Regions from separate parts of the Homo sapiens genome. Here all the other regions are linked to region 1. Evidence: promoter capture Hi-C in 16 types of primary human blood cells and fetal thymus (Javierre and others, 2016). All regions are on one chromosome and are shown on one strand. The core of a region is centred on a gene start or on the middle of the fragment in contact, and the rest is flanking DNA. Distances in the headings are between cores, read along the strand shown. Region 1 holds the start of RBBP5 (RB binding protein 5, histone lysine methyltransferase complex subunit). Region 2 holds the start of EIF2D (eukaryotic translation initiation factor 2D). Region 3 has its middle 4.7 kb from the start of ZBED6. Region 4 holds the start of SNRPE (small nuclear ribonucleoprotein polypeptide E).

Evidence for each region. Contacts are between HindIII fragments. The CHiCAGO score rates a contact against its expected background, and 5 or more counts as called.
Region 2: the fragment with the promoter of EIF2D here is called in contact with the fragment with the promoter of RBBP5 in region 1 in 3 of 17 cell types (total CD8 T cells, total CD4 T cells and neutrophils); the score reaches 8.4 in total CD8 T cells.
Region 3: a fragment that was not itself captured here is called in contact with the fragment with the promoter of RBBP5 in region 1 in 1 of 17 cell types (neutrophils); the score reaches 6.2 in neutrophils.
Region 4: the fragment with the promoter of SNRPE here is called in contact with the fragment with the promoter of RBBP5 in region 1 in 3 of 17 cell types (neutrophils, total CD8 T cells and non-activated CD4 T cells); the score reaches 8.0 in neutrophils.

What each region holds. Positions count from the first base shown.
Region 1 is chr1:205,119,964-205,123,722 of GRCh38, reverse strand. It overlaps RBBP5 (RB binding protein 5, histone lysine methyltransferase complex subunit), which reads left to right and starts at 1,745. Exons shown (of 14, transcript NM_005057.4): 1 at 1,745-1,868. The coding sequence starts at 1,850. RefSeq lists a silencer at 768-1,062 and enhancers at 1,424-1,643, 1,784-1,963, 3,127-3,685. The HindIII fragment of the contact is 6,684 bases long and covers 1-2,211 here.
Region 2 is chr1:206,610,346-206,614,104 of GRCh38, reverse strand. It overlaps EIF2D (eukaryotic translation initiation factor 2D), which reads left to right and starts at 1,640. Exons shown (of 15, transcript NM_006893.3): 1 at 1,640-1,818; 2 at 2,731-2,921. The coding sequence starts at 1,763. RefSeq lists a silencer at 1,378-1,587 and an enhancer at 1,878-1,947. The HindIII fragment of the contact is 3,738 bases long and covers 1-2,739 here.
Region 3 is chr1:203,789,089-203,792,847 of GRCh38, reverse strand. No RefSeq gene overlaps it. Among named protein-coding and RNA genes, the nearest start is that of ZBED6, 4.7 kb to the left of the region's middle. RefSeq lists an enhancer at 2,568-2,737. The HindIII fragment of the contact is 1,363 bases long and covers 1,303-2,665 here.
Region 4 is chr1:203,859,490-203,863,248 of GRCh38, reverse strand. SNRPE (small nuclear ribonucleoprotein polypeptide E) reads right to left here and starts at 1,650. Exons shown (of 5, transcript NM_003094.4): 1 at 1,536-1,650; 2 at 1,027-1,053. The coding sequence starts at 1,589. RefSeq lists enhancers at 545-1,120, 1,506-1,765, 1,574-1,868. The HindIII fragment of the contact is 9,598 bases long and covers 1-3,759 here.

The DNA.
Region 1 (3,759 bases), core at 496-2,995:
TTTTCCTTGTTGCTTTTGCCTTTATGCAAAGTTTTCCTTTGTCTTTGGAGAGTAGAAAAACTGTGGATTTTTTTTTTTTTGAGACAGAGTCTCACTCTGTTGTCCAGGCTGGAGTGCAATGGTGCGATCTTGGCTCACTGAAACCTCTGCCTCCCGGGTTCAAGCGATTCTCCTGCCTCAGCCTCCCGAGTAGCTGGGATAACAGGCATGAGCCACCACGCCCAACTAATTTTGTATTTTTAGTAGAGACAGTGTTTCTCCATATTGATCAGGCTGGTCTCGAACTCCCGACCTCAGGTGATCAGCCCGCCTCGGCCTCCCAAAGTGCTGGGATTACAGGCGTGAGCCACCGCACCCGGCTGCAAAAGACATACTTTATAAAGGTCCAAGGATAATGGAAATAGAAGACATTAATGTAATATGTTCTTGGGAACTAATTGGATACACCAAGTATTATCTTTGACTAGTTTCTGGACTTCTGCTTCATTCTGCAACCTGCAGCCAACTACCATGGTGTCCATCTATTATTAGGCGCTTTAAATAGCTCCTTAATTCACATTTACTCTCTTCAATCGATGTGTCAGACTGTGGGGGCCACTTAATTCCCATTCCAAATTCTTGGGAAAGGAATTTAATTGGGTTGAGCTTAGGTCAGGGGCTTACTGAAAGAGCAATCAACTGGGGCCCAGGGACAGGGTGCACTGTGTGAATGAGGCTGCTTTTTCTGCAAATTTGTCAAGTAGAGGCAGACTGGACTAGCTACATAATTTGCAGGGCCCTGGGCAACATGAAAATGCTGGGCTCCCTAGTTCAAAAGTTTCATTATTGTTTCCAAAAGTTTGCAATTGCAGACAATACTGCGATTAATAAACTTGTGTATGTGTATTTTTCCATTGTCGGAGACCTAGCCCGAGTACTATTTTCTGCAGCGAGCCTTTGACGTTGTTTCCTTTTTCTGATGAGCCACAGCATTTATAGTAGGAATTTGTTCATATAAAATTTGCTCTTTCGCTAGATACCAGTAACTGGACTTCTCTAATTGCTTTGGGTATTTCATTGGAGTTCTGTATGACTGAGCTCCGGGAAACTCAGTCCACCCCTCATTCCAATTCTTTTTCACAGTCTTTTTCACAGCGTCCCTGTCAACACTGTTTGGTAAAGGGTAAAACCTTAGATAATAAGGTTTTTATTATCTTAACACAGACAGGCCTAACATATGTTGTCGTACCTTTCTGTAGGATCAATAGCATATCTTTACAAATGAGAAATAATTTTCACGAGACCGAAACACCCTGCAACGCCACCTACATACAGGGTAAGTACGCGCCTTGGTGAGGTCAGCGGCGCTACACACCCGAGCACTAGGGGACGACCTTCCCTGGTTTCTTGCATTAGCAGGACTTGTCCGGAACCTTTCCTGCGGAGTCTGAGGTAGCCCGCCCGGACAACGCCGCTGAACACACAACAGGGCAAGAACTAGTAGGTTAACTGTATGCCTGGAATTTCTACCTCACCTACATGTTCCCGGAGCAAATAATCTTAAATTGTCGCGCTATTTAAAGTCCCTAGTGACGATAACATTGTTGTACCTCAGCAAAGATCATAATTAATTGTTTCCGAGAGAGTGTATGCTTGATTTTGGTCAGGCATATATTTGGGCAGCCCACCTGAAACGAACAAGGAAGGCGGGGGAAGAAAGCGGAAGCCGCGGGGCCTTCTAAGGCCGAAAGTCTTCGGAGCTTGCGCCAGTCTCTTCGCGGCGTCCACCACTTAGACGCAAGTTGCTGAAGCCGGCCGGGGAGAAGGTGTTGTTGCCGGAGCTGAGACCGGGCGGCCACAGTCCGCAGGGATGAACCTCGAGTTGCTGGGTGAGAAGGGCTGTGGCTGCGTTTTAGAGAAGCGTTGGGTACTGGAAAGGAGGGAACCCAGGCGGGAGGGGAGTCAGGCTGCAATCTTAGGGACACTGTTCGGCTATGGATCACTGGGCACACCTGATGTGGAGCAGCAGCGGGAGGAGGAAGCCCACCTTCTGCCCGAGTAGGTTGCATTGCCCCTCCCGAGGCCACTTTCATATCAATTATGGAGCGATGGGGACAGACAGTTTGTGACTTAGCTTTGATTATGAGGATCGCAGGTGTTGAAGTACCCAGAGCAGCCAGGACCAGAGTTGTTGGAGATGGAATTTGAAGAAGTGAGGCTTGGGATGAAGCTTTGAAGACTTGTCAGGGAATTGGGTGCCTGAACAGGTTAATCTTTTTGTAGAAAAGAGAAGTCTAAGGAGGGGACTTGGAGATCTTCTGGTAGAAGCTTCTCATTGAACAGATGAATAAAGGCTCAGAGGGTAATGGCTAGGCACTAAGCAAGTAAATGGCATAGTTGGCACTGGAATCCAATTATCCTAACTTTCTGTTTAAGGTCCTTTGCTAGGGACGGTGTGTAAAACACTGAGGTGTGAAATACGGAGGGAGTTGTCTTTTGTCGCCCTCACTTTGAGTCATTGCCTCCTTACCTCCTATCCAGATTATTTAAAAACTGTAGGTCCTTTCTCCTGGACTTCCATTAGGTGACATTTAGCATGGTATTCTAGGGGTAGCTGAGGTTTTCAAGGACTTCTGCACTACTTGCTGTTCCTAATGGTTAGGTTTCTCTTTTAAAAAAGTCAGAAGATATGTTAATTGTCAAAAGGGCTACAAAGATACATAAAAAATGGTCTTTGCCCTTAAAGAGCTTTTCATTAAGCAGGGAGTTTAAGGTGATTATGTAAAATAGCTGTAGGATATTGCAGAATGTAGGCAGGCCTGAAAGAGTCATTACCAGTTGCTAAGAATGTTTGGAACAGAGAGTGAATGTCTTTGGGGTAAAGGAAGAAGTCAACCAGGAAAAACAAACCCCCCAAACCTGTGGAGGAGTTGGAGTTTTAAGTGGACTTTTTTTTTTTTTTTTAAGACAGCCTCGCGCCGTCGCCTAGGCTGGAGTGCAGTGGCACAGTCTTGGCTCACTGCAACCTCTGTCTCCTGGGTTCGAGTGATTCTCGTGCCTCAGCCTCCTGAGTAGCTGGTACTACAGGTGCGCACTGCCATGCCTGGCTAATTTTTGTATGTTTAGCAGAGATGGGGTTTCACTGTGTTGGCCAGGCTGGTCTCAAACTCCTGGCCCCAAGCAATCCACTCACCTCAGCCTCCCAAAGTGTCCGGCCTTAAGTGGATTTTTAAGGTTGGTAAAATATCAACAGGCTGAAGTATGAAAATATGGGAGGGATGTTCAGTAGGCATCAGTGAGAGAAGACCTAAAGAATTTTCCTGCTTGGCCAGGTTGTGGATAAAGAGAATGCCAGGGGATGGGATCGGTGCCATCTATTTTGTGTTGGTTCTCGAATGCCTAGCTCAAAAGTTTGGGCTTTTTAGGGAAGGTAGGGTAGATCCATTGAAGGATTTTGACTTAGTAACTCAATCAGAGCTATGAGTTTGTAAGGTTTGTCTGACAGCAATGTGGAGTTGAGTTTTGGAGGAGTGTAAAACCAGTTTGGAGGGGTAGATTATATGAGTGATGAGGAAGGCCTGAGCTAGGAAATAGAAAAGACATTGAGGAGGTAGGGATGACAAATTTGAGAATAGATTGCATATAGTGCTGATGAGTAAGAGAGTGACGTGAAAAATGGTGAGAGCAAATAATGATGCTGTTGATAAAGTGTAAGGTCATTGGAAAAAGACAGCTTTGGAGAAGCTGAATGTGGTCTAGGGGTCAGGAGACAGGTTTGGA
Region 2 (3,759 bases), core at 391-2,890, 1.5 Mb before region 1:
ATTTACTTTTATTACTTAAATTGCTTAATGTAATTTTAATATGCAAGACTTAATTTACGAAGAGCCAGGATTCCGGGTGTTTAAATCCTTGTCTCCAGGGAACACAGCTGTCCCTTTGAGGAAAACCTAATTTCTCTTCCCTGCCTGTGTGACTTTGGGACAAATCTGGGACAACAGTGAATTCTCTATTACTGTTATTACCACCCAAGTAAACTAAAAATCCGGGATGAGAAAAATCTTACAGAAAATTCTAGCTGAGGCTTCTAGCTTATAGTACAATGAATAGACCTTAATCATAGAATGCCTTTAAGAAAAACATTTAGGCCCGACTTGGTGGTTCACACCTGTCCTGTAATCCCACCACTTTGGGAGGCCGAGGCGGACAGATCTCTTGACCTCAGGAGTTTGAGACCAGCCTGGGCAACAAGGTGAGATCCTGTCTCTACAAAAAATACAAAAATTAGCCTGGTGTGGTGGTGCCCGCCTGTAGTCCCAGCTACTCGGGAGGCTGAAGCGGATGGATCGCTTGAGCCCGGGAGGTGGAGGCTGCATTGAGCTGAGATTGCGCCACTGCACTCCAGCCTGGGTGACACAGCGAGACCCTGTCTCCAAGTAAACAAAATAAAATAAAATAAAGAAAAATATTCAAAAAGCCCTCGAGGTTTTTTTGTTTGTTTGTTTGATTTTTTTGATACGGAGTCTTACTCTGTTGTCCAAGGTGGGGTGCAGTGGCACAATCTCGGCTCACGGCAACCTCTGCCTCCTGGGCTCAAGCGATCCTACCGCCTTAGCCTCCCCAGGCATGCGCCACCACACCCGGCTGAATTTTTCTTTTTTCTTTTCTTTTTTTTTTTTTTTTGAGACGGACTTTCACTCTTGTTGCCCAGGCTGGAGTGCAATTGTGCAATCTCGGCTCACCACAACCTCTGCCTCCCGGGTTCAAGCAATTCTCCTGCCTCAGCCTCCCGAGTAGCTGGGATTACAGGCATGCTCCACCATGCCCGGCTAATTTTGTATTTTTAGTACAGACAGGGTTTCTCCATGTTGATCAGGCTGGTCTCGAACTCCCGACCTCAGGTGATCCGCCCACCTCGGCCTCCCAATTCTTTTTCTTTCTTTCTTTCTTTCTTTTTTTTTTTTTTTTTTTTTTTTTTTATTTTGTATTTTTTATGGAGATGGGGTTTCGCCATGTTGCCCAGGCTGGTCTCGAACTTCTGGGCTTAAGCGGTCCGCCCGCCTCGGCCTCCCAAAGTCTGGGATAACAGGCTTGGGCCACCGCGCCCGGCCGAAGCCTGAACTGTTTATCAGTTCAATTATTTTTGCGGAATTGAACCGAACCGAATGGAATGGGAGCTTGCAGAGAGCTTCTACTCAAAGCAGTTCCTAAGGTTGATGGGGTGGAAGGAAATAAACAGAACAGCTATTGGCGTGGCCGAGTCGCTACGGACGGGGAACCCGAGCCGCTCGCGCAGGCGCAGAGCCAGGCCCGCGAGGGGATGGGAAGGTGGGGGGGAGGGGCGTTCCCTGGGCCCTGCCCCTCCCTGCCCTGCTTTAGTTCCAGGTACCGCCACTGGGGGCGGCCGCGGCCTCCCCAGCGGCAACGGCCACGAAGCTGCGCGGCCCTGGTTTCCAGCCGGGCCCTTTTCGCGGCCGGGCCCCAGCATGGCTGCCCCCACGGCTGAGGGCCTGGCAGCTGCTGCGCCCTCGCTTTCTTGACATTCCCTGGCTTCTGTGCTCTCTTCCCCAGGCCACCCCAGCAGACATGTTTGCCAAGGCCTTTCGGGTCAAGTCCAACACGGCCATCAAGGGGTCGGACAGGTGAGGGAGGAAAGGGGCCTGCTCTGCCACGGAACAACCAGACACCTCTTGGGCCCCGCTGGCCCATAGCCCTCGCTATTCTTGGCCGACATCCTCGGGTGGAGGCCGAGGGGTATGCCAGGGAAGGGACCCCAGGAGGCAAGGGTGGGTTAGACACATTTTGAGGTGAGGATGGAGGGGGACCTGGCTCTCTTTTGGATAGTCTAGTGAGTTTAAAAGAAAACGTAGTTAAGTCAGAGTTTACTGACTGCAGACTATTTAAGGTGTTGTGGAGAATGCAGAAGTGAAGGAATACAGAATTCTTGCCCTCCAAAGAGCTTAATGCCCCTTGGGAGAGATCGGATGGGATACCAAGAATTAAAAGTATAAGAGAAAAAAATGACTAGTGATTAATTCTGGCAGGAGAGACAGCTGGAAACTGAGGTGGGAGGGAATAAGGCACATGTGGTAAGAAGAACTGTATCTGTTCAGACAGGGTCACAAATGGAGATTGTGTTTGGAATTTTGTAACCAGTGCTTTATAGTTGTCTATAGGTCTCATGGCATAGTTATTTAATCATAAACTGGCATATTTGCGAAGCATGTATGAGAAAGGAGTGGGCCCAAGGGCTAGGCATGAAGTCAGGAAGGCAGGGCTGTTTCCTGTGTCAGGCTAACTTGGATTGTTCACTGGGCCTGTTTTCCCACCCATAAAATGGGAAGGCATACCCCAGGAATGAGTGAAAATAGATGACAATGGATGAAAAAGAGTTTAGGATGTTTCAGAAGAGTGTGTGTGAGACTAGGACATCATAAACCAGGCAATCTTTCTTTGGCCCTTGTGATTTTATAGTGAGCACTTTTGAGTTCGTTCTTGATATTTATTAAAAGTCTGTCCAGGCAGCATTCACAGTGCTGGTGTGCTTTCCACAGGAGAAAGCTTCGAGCTGATGTGACAACTGCTTTCCCCACCCTTGGAACTGATCAAGTCTCTGAGTTAGTACCTGGAAAGGAGGAGCTCAACATTGTGAAGTTGTATGCTCACAAAGGGGATGCAGTGACTGTGTACGTGAGTGGTGGTAACCCCATCCTCTTTGAACTGGAGAAAAATCTGTATCCAACAGGTATGACAACAGGACGAAGATGGCCATTACCATTAGGTAGTTCTTGCCTAACATCTGCTTCTCTCTGTTTCTTCCATTGTCTCCCATAAAATAAGCAAGCACGAAATCTCCCAATACCATCCCCAAGGATCTTTATGGACCTGGTGTTCCTAGAATTGGGTCTTTCAATTCTAGGATGCAAAAGGTTTTCTCTTATGCAAAACCACTATAGGAGGGATTAAAAAAAGGGCTGACATAGTAAGTAAGGGTGGTTGCAAAGGGAAGTTCTGAGATGAAGGAACAGTGGCTGAGAAGTTTACAGTGGGTTGACTAGGAATAGAGCAGAGGTCTTGAAAAGGATGGAATTTCAGGGCATGTCTTCATGAGACAGAGTCTTGCTCTGTTGCCCAGGCTGGAGTGCAGTGGCGCAATCTCAGCTCACTGCAAGCTCCGCCTCCTGGGTTCACACCATTCTCTTGCCTCAGCCTCCCGAGTAGCAGGAACTACAGGCACCCGCCACCACACCTTGCTAATTTTTTGCATTTTTTAGTAGAGACGGGATTTCACCATGTTAGCCAGGATGATCTTGATCTCCTGACCTCATGATCCGCCCGCCTCGGCCTCCCAAAGTGCTGGAATTACAGACGTGAGCCACCGCGCCTGGCCAAAAATATATATATTTTTTAGAGACAAGGTCTTACTCTGTCACCCAGGCTGAAGTGCAGTGGTGTGATCGTAGCTAACTGTAACCTCAACCTCCTGTGCTTAAGGGATCCTCCCACCTCAGCCTCCTGTGTAGCTGGGACTACAGGCATATGCCACCATGTCTGGCTACGTTTAAAATTTTTGGTAGAGACAA
Region 3 (3,759 bases), core at 735-3,234, 1.3 Mb after region 1:
AGCTACTCAGGAGTCTGAGGCAGGGAAGCACCTGAACCCAGGAGGCAGAGTTTGCAGTGAGCCAAGATTGCACCACTGCACTCCAACCTGGGCAACAGAGAGAGAACCTGTCTCACAGAAAAAAAAAAAAAAAAAGGCAGGAGAAAAAGCCTAAGGCTGTTGCAGAGAGAGAAAACTAGTTGGGAAACCCTCTAAGAGTCAGGAGAGTGCACATGCCAACCTTCCCCACCCCCCCATATATACACACAGAATTCTCAGGGGTGGGGCTGGGCTTGCCCTTTGTATGTTATAAGTGGGGGTGAAGTATCTAAACCAAGGACACAATGCCAGATTCCCCCTATTCATACTGCCCTTCAAATTCTAAATGGATTTTAAACATATCTAGACCTCTTCAGTGAATGACAAAACCTTTTGGGACGTTCAGTGTGTTTTTGCTTTGAGAGCAAAAGTTTGGGGAAAAAATGCAAAATTATTGAGACAAAATTAGGTTCAAGAGAATCTTTATTTAGACTAGAAAAGGAAATCACAACAAATTACACATTAAAAAAAAAAAAAAAACTGTGGCTGGGCACAGTGCCTCATGCCAGTAATCCCAGCACTATGGGAGGCCCAGGCCAGTGGATCACTTGAGCCCAGGAATTCAAGACCAGCCTGGGCAACATGGTAAAACCCCATGTCTACTAAAAATACAAAAATTAGCTGGATGTTGTGGCGTGCACCTGTAATCCCAGCTATTTGGGAGGCTGAGGCAGCAGAATCCCTTGAACCCGGGAGGTGGAGATTACAGTGAGCTGAGATTGTGTACCACTGCACTTCAGCCTGGGCGACAGAGTGAGACTCAGTCAAAAAAAAAAAAAAGAAAGAAAAAAAAATATATATGTATGATTATTGTCAAATTTGGTACAGCTTCTATCAAGTTTCTTAGATATATATAAGCACTAAGACTTTATTGAATTATTTAATACCCTCTTGGCCAGGCAAGAGCTACCATTTTTACTAAATCTATTATTTATTGCTATGTAAAAAATCACCCAAAAATGTAGTGGCTTAAGGAACAAACATTTGTTATTTCACGTGTCTGTGGGTCAGGAATTCAGAAGCAGTTTGGCTGGATGGTTCTGACTCAGAGTCTCTAATGAGTTTGCAATCAAGTTGGCCAGGACTGCAGTCATCTGAAGGCTTGACTGGGGCTAGAAGATACATTTCCAAGTCAACTCATATAGCTGTTAACAGGAGATGAGACCTCAGTTTCTCACTCTGAGGGCCTCTCCGTAGGGCTGCTCAGGATATAGGCAACAAGCTTCTCCCAGAGTGAATGACGAGAGAAATAGTAAAGATAGACACTATAAGCTGCAATGCCTTTTATGACCTAGCCTTGGGCATTACATACCACCATTTCTTCTGTATTCTATTGATCACACAGATTAACACTGGCATTATGTGGGAGGGGACTAAGCAAGGGCATGGTAACAGGAGCCAGGGATCATTGGGGTCTTTCTTGGAGGCTTGCTACCATGCCAGCTGTTAGTGATAACTGACTCGTCCATTTAAAATTTTAGATATGGCCAGGCACAGCGACTCATGCCTGTAATCCCAGCACTTTGGGAGGCCGAGGCGGGCAGATCACCTGATCAGGAGTTCAAGGCCAGCCTGCCAAACATGGTGAAACCCCGTCTCTACTAAAAATACAAAAATTAGCCGGGCGTAGTGGCATGCGCCTGTAATCCCAGCTACCTAGGAGGCTGAGGCAGGAGAATCGCTGGAACCCGGGAGGCAGAGGTTGCAGTGAGCCAAGATCATGCCACTGCACTCCAGCCTGAGCAACAGAGCAAGACTCCATCTGAAAAAAAAAAATAAAAAAAAAATAAAATTTTAGATGTGTGGCCAGGTGCAGTGGCTCACACCTGTATTCCCAGCACTTTGGGAGGCCAAAGCAGGTGGATCACCTGAGATCAGGAGTTCAAGACCAGCCTGGCCAACATGGTGAAACCCCCTCTCTACTAAAAATACAAAAATCAGCCAGGTGTGGTGGCATGCATCTGTAGTCCCAGCTACTTGGGAGGCTGAGGCAGGAGAATCACTCGAACCCAGGAGGCAGAGGTTGCTTGAACCCAGGAGGCAGAGGTTGCGGTAAGCCCAAGTTGCGCCACTGCACTGCAGCCTGGGCGACAGAGCGAGACTCCATCTCAAAAAAAAAAAAAATTTTAGACGTGTGAAGAATTTTCCACAGACTAGCCTCTGATGCCATATGTTTCAAACCTTGTCACCCCTCAATGATTTACATTCTTCCAGTGCCAGATGCTGTAGGGCAGGTTTAAAACAAAATGTGACCTCTGGCCCTACAACATTGGGTCATAATGCTAGATGAGTCACTACAGTGGGCAACAGGGGTATTCTTGAAAACTATTTCTAGCCCCATGAAAGTGACTGTAAATCACATAAATATAACCCAAAATAATTGCATCCCAACCCCCTTTTAGCCAGATCCCAAAATGCCCAATAAGGGGAAGGTACTAGAAAGGACAGCTGAGTGAAAAGAAACAGGGCTTTTAACCATTGTCATTAAAATCTTACTTTTGCAAGTTTTAGAATGACTGCATTGCTAAGGCCCTGTCCAGAGCCTTGAAGGGAGCTTGTGAAAGAAAGGGTACCTGAAGGTTAAGCTTCATTATTTGCATAGCAGATCGGTAGTAGGATGTGTTGACTCTCATATAATCTGGATTCAAATGCTGACCCAGCCTTCACCCTGAGGCTCTAGTCCACCCTGCGGGCTTTACAAACTGAGGGTAGCCCTGTGTCTGTACTACCCGACATGAGAGATTGGAGTGGGAGAGAAACCACCATGTGAGTAGCTAGTCCCTTCCCCCACAGTGTTCATCACCACTGTCCATCATCTTGCCTTTTTGTTGTTGTTATTGTTGTTGTTTTTGAGACAGAGTTTCACTCTTCTGCCCAGGCTGGAGTGCGATGGCGCGCTCTCAGCTCACTGCGAACTTTGCCTCGCAGGTACAAGCGATTCTCCTGCCTCAGCCTCCCGAGTAGTTGAGATTATAGGCGCCTGCCACCATGCCCAACTAATTTTTTTTGTATTTTCAGTAGAGACGGGGTTTCACCATGTTGGCCAGGCTGGTCTTGAACTCCTGACCTCAGGTGATCCGCCCACCTTGGCCTCCCAAAGTGCTGGGATTACAGGTGTGAGCCACCGCGCCCAGTCTCATCTTGCCTCTTTTTATCCCTGCCTTTGGGTCTCAGCTGTCTGACATGTGTGAGAAGATAGTGACTAACAGAGCATTCTACCGAGAAGCCTTAGACAGGAGTCACAAATAACTTACTAACTGCGGATGACACAATTTAAACTTCTTTCTCTGACTGTGGGATCTGAACTGGTATCATCAAAAATCAACACTTCTAGGCCTGCCTTCCCCTTCCAATGCTTCCAATGCATCCTTTTGCTGTTTTATTTCCTCATAAGGATTTTTTACTTGGTCCTCAAATAACATTGTTTCATTCAATGTCATTTCATTAAAATGATGATGAGGAAAAAATAAATCAATTCCAGGCCGAGTACACTGTCTGGGTGGATTTTACACATTTCACTCGTGTCTGTGTGAGTTTTCTCCAGGTACTCCAGTTTCCTCCCACATCCCAAAGATGTGCAAATTAGGTGAACTGGTATGTCTAAATGATCCCAGTCTTAGTGAGCCTGGATGTGAGTGTACCCTGTGATGGAATAGCAGCAGCCTGTCCAGGTTTGGTTTC
Region 4 (3,759 bases), core at 401-2,900, 1.3 Mb after region 1:
CAGGTGTTCAATATAAGCCTGCGCAACATTAAGCAAGATCTCCCCGCCCCCCGCCCCCCAAAAAATTGAAGTATACAAAACCTAACCATTTTGGTCAAACGACAAGAGAAATATGGCTCCTAAAAAAATTGTAATGAATGTAAGTCAAAAGTTTTAACTAATTAGCCCATATCTAAGAATTATTCACCAATAATAATAACCTCAAAAAGAATTTTCATTTAATAAGTTCTATATTGGAACTGTATAAGCTAATAATTTTCCTGTGATTTTGGGACTCAATATTTCTTACTGCTTCTGGTCTCAATCTATTAAGAGTGAAAGTTTTTGACAGCATAGCACAAAGCAGTAATTTCTAATGACCAAGGGCTTATCTCCTGCAGCAAAATCCAGTTCCAAAACAAAGCCTTCTCATGTCACACACCTAACAACTAGGACAGGAGCCCTCAATTCAGGTGGTTAAGAATTATTATCACCTGAAATTAATGTTTTTCAGTTGTGTTATCACACTATAAAATTTAAGTTGCTAAAATTTCCCTCAAAGGAAAGCAGCTGCCACTAAACTCCTCTGAAGCTACCCCTTCTCTCTTCCTTTTTTCGTCTTTAAGTTTTCCCACAGGTATTAAACACACCACCTCTTGACATGGTTTAAGTTGGCTGGGTTTTTCTTCCAATGTTTCATCCTAAAGGGGAGAGGTTCCAATGTTCTAGCCATAATCACTACTAACAAAACTACTGATGCCCAAATACCATGGTCAAGTCTGCTAATAATACTTTTTGGAATTAAAAAGTATTTTTGATCTTGCAAAGTAATGGATACAATTCTTTGCATGTTGGGAAGTGGCATGGATACACACCACTTCATCACATTAGTGCTTTCTAAGTACTCCTTCCCCTCAATTACCCTCCAATCTCCAGTTACATCTATTTTTAAATTCTAGAACACAGCGATCGCTCAGGTTAACACAAAAAACTAAATCAGTTCACCTCTTATTTAAAAAGTAGTTACGAAACAAGCAACTTACGTACATTTTGTAAGTATCTGAAGATGAGGTTCTGCACCACAGTGGCTAAGGAAAAAATACAAAAGCAGCATAGACTCTGCTTCCTGAAACAACCGGACGACGCTATTCCCGTCTCACCTTTGTTTACTAAACGCGAGGTCTGGTGCTTACGCAAACAACAAGTGCCCAGCTGGGCATTCGTTACGGGTCTTCTAAAGACTAAAGAACATCCATTCCACTTTCATCCCCCTGGAGTTTCCCAAAACCGTTAACTCCCGTTTTCACTCCGCACCTGAAGTTCTCTTCCCTCCTTTTGCCGCGTCCATTCCTGCATTCCCCACGGCAGGGGTCCCCCCAAGACCACCTCCCCACCATCACGGTTCAACTACCCGCGCTTTCTTCCAGTCTTGGTAGCCCCGGGGGCTCATGGGATGTGGATCCGTACTCCACTATCCCAGGCCTGCCCTCAGCCTGCGCCTTCGCACCCCGTATTCTGACCCGAACCTCCTAGTCCTGACATCCTGCGTAGGATACGATGGGCTGCACCATAACCTTCTGCACTTTCTGACCCTGGCCACGGTACGCCATGGTGGAATTTCACAAAGAGCACACCCGCACGCTGCCTCTGAGAGCAACTTCCGGAATAAAGAACCGGAAGCGGAAGTGTGAAGGTCACGCGGCGGCATGGGCGGCTCCTGGGAAATGCCCCTCTAGCCATGAAGTCACGTTTCTTCGCTGCATGGCCTCCGAGGGAGGCCAAACTGAGGCGTCTGCGCTGTGGAAGGTGGGCCGGTCCTACAGCGCCACCTGGAGGGAGGCGGGAGGAGGTGCCTTCGGTTGTATAGTGGCCGTGGTAGGAGGAGTGCCGTCCTGTCTCCAATTTCTTTTCTTTTTTTTTTTTTGAGGCGAAGTCTCGCTCTGTCGCCCAGGCTGGAGTGCAGTGGCGCGATTTCAGCTCACTGCAACCTCAGCCTCCAGGGTTCAAGCGATTCTCCTGCCTCAGCCTCCCGAGTAGCTGGGACTACAGGCGCCTGCCACCACGTCCGACTAATTTTTTGTGTTTTTAGTAGAGACGGGGTTTCACCATGTTGGCCAGGATGGTCTCGATCTCCTGACCTCATGATCCGCCCGCCTCGGCCTCCCAAAGTGCTGGGATTACAGGCGTAAGCCACCGCGCCCGGCCTGTATCTCCATTTTCTGAGTTAGCTTGAAAAGCCAAAATCGTCCCAGTGTGTATCTCTATGTGTAAAATGAGTTAATTTCGTGCCTTTCCTAAAGCCTATTTTGCTGGAGTTTAGGCTTGATAGCAGCGTTGTGGTGGAAAGGGTAGGGCGGCAAGGAGCCCAAACTTCAGGCCTCCCACCTCTGGCAGTCGGCCAGAGGCGGTCTGCATTCCAAAGCCAGACGCCTGGTTCCCTCCAGTTACGGATTCAATTCTCATCCATTTCGTGGAGAGTTACTGTTCAGGTGGCAACTGAGGGTGGCGATTTACCAGGAAGACGCTGAAATCCACATGCTGGGCGCAAATCCAGCTCTTTTAGAGTTGGTGACCAAGGATAAATTACTCAGCCTCGCCATGTCTTGGCTTAGTTTCCAAAACGGAGATTATAGTAAAGATTAACTTTACTCAGGGGCTTAAAGATTCAATGAAATAATTGTCTATGTGTGCACACAGTTAGGCGTCAGCCAGTGTCAGAACATGTCCTTCCCTGGATAACACAGCTACTAAGTGGAGCAGCTGGAATTTGTAGGTGTGCCTGACCCCAAAGTCCACCTACCTTTCCATTGTGTCATGGCTTGTGGCCTGGCAGAGATTTCACTTAATTGGCATACACATGTTATAGAGGAGGAAACTGAAGTTTAGACTTTTGAAAGGACTTGCCTAAGGGAACACGGATTAGGGCAAATGGCAGAATCAAAATTAGCTTTTCTGAGGGCTTCTGTTTAATGGGGATAATAGTAATAACGACTTCAGAAAGGGGTTGAGTTGAAAGTGATTTTTAAACTACACAAAGCGGCCAGGCTCACGCCTGTAATCCCAGCATTTTGGGAGGCCGAGGCAGGTGGATCAACTGAGGTCAGGAGTTCGAGACCAGCCTGGGCAACATGGTGAAACCTTGTCTCTACTAAAAATACAAAAATTAGCCATGCATGGTAGCACATGCCTGTAATCCCAGCTACTTGGGAGACTGAGACAGGAGAATCACTTGAACCCAGGAGGCAGAGGTTGCAGTGAGCCGAGATCATGCCACTGCACTCCAGCCTTGGTGACGGAGCGAGACTCCGTCTCAAAAAAATAAATAAGAATAAATAAATAAATAAACTACACAAAGCTGGCAAATGCATGGGATAACTATTTCCTTTAAAAAATTTCAGCCAGGGCTGGGCACAGTGGCTCATGCCTGTAAATCCCAGCACTTTGGGAGGCTGAGGCAGGCAGATCACAAGGTCAGGAGTTTGAGACCAGCCTGGCCAATATGGTGAAACCCCGTCTCTATTAAAAATACAAAAATTAGCTGGGCGTAGTGGTAGGCGCCTGTAGTCCCATCTACTCAGGAGGCTGAGGCAGGAGAATTGCTTGAATCTGGGAGGCAGAGGTTGCAGTGAGCCGAGATCGCGCCACTGCACTCCAGCCTGGGTGACAGAGCAAGACTCTGTCTCAAAGAAAAAAAAAAAAAAATTTCAGCCAGGTGCGCGAGCTCATGCCTGTAATCCCAGCATTTTGAGAAGCAGAAGCAGGAGGCTTGCTCGAACCCAG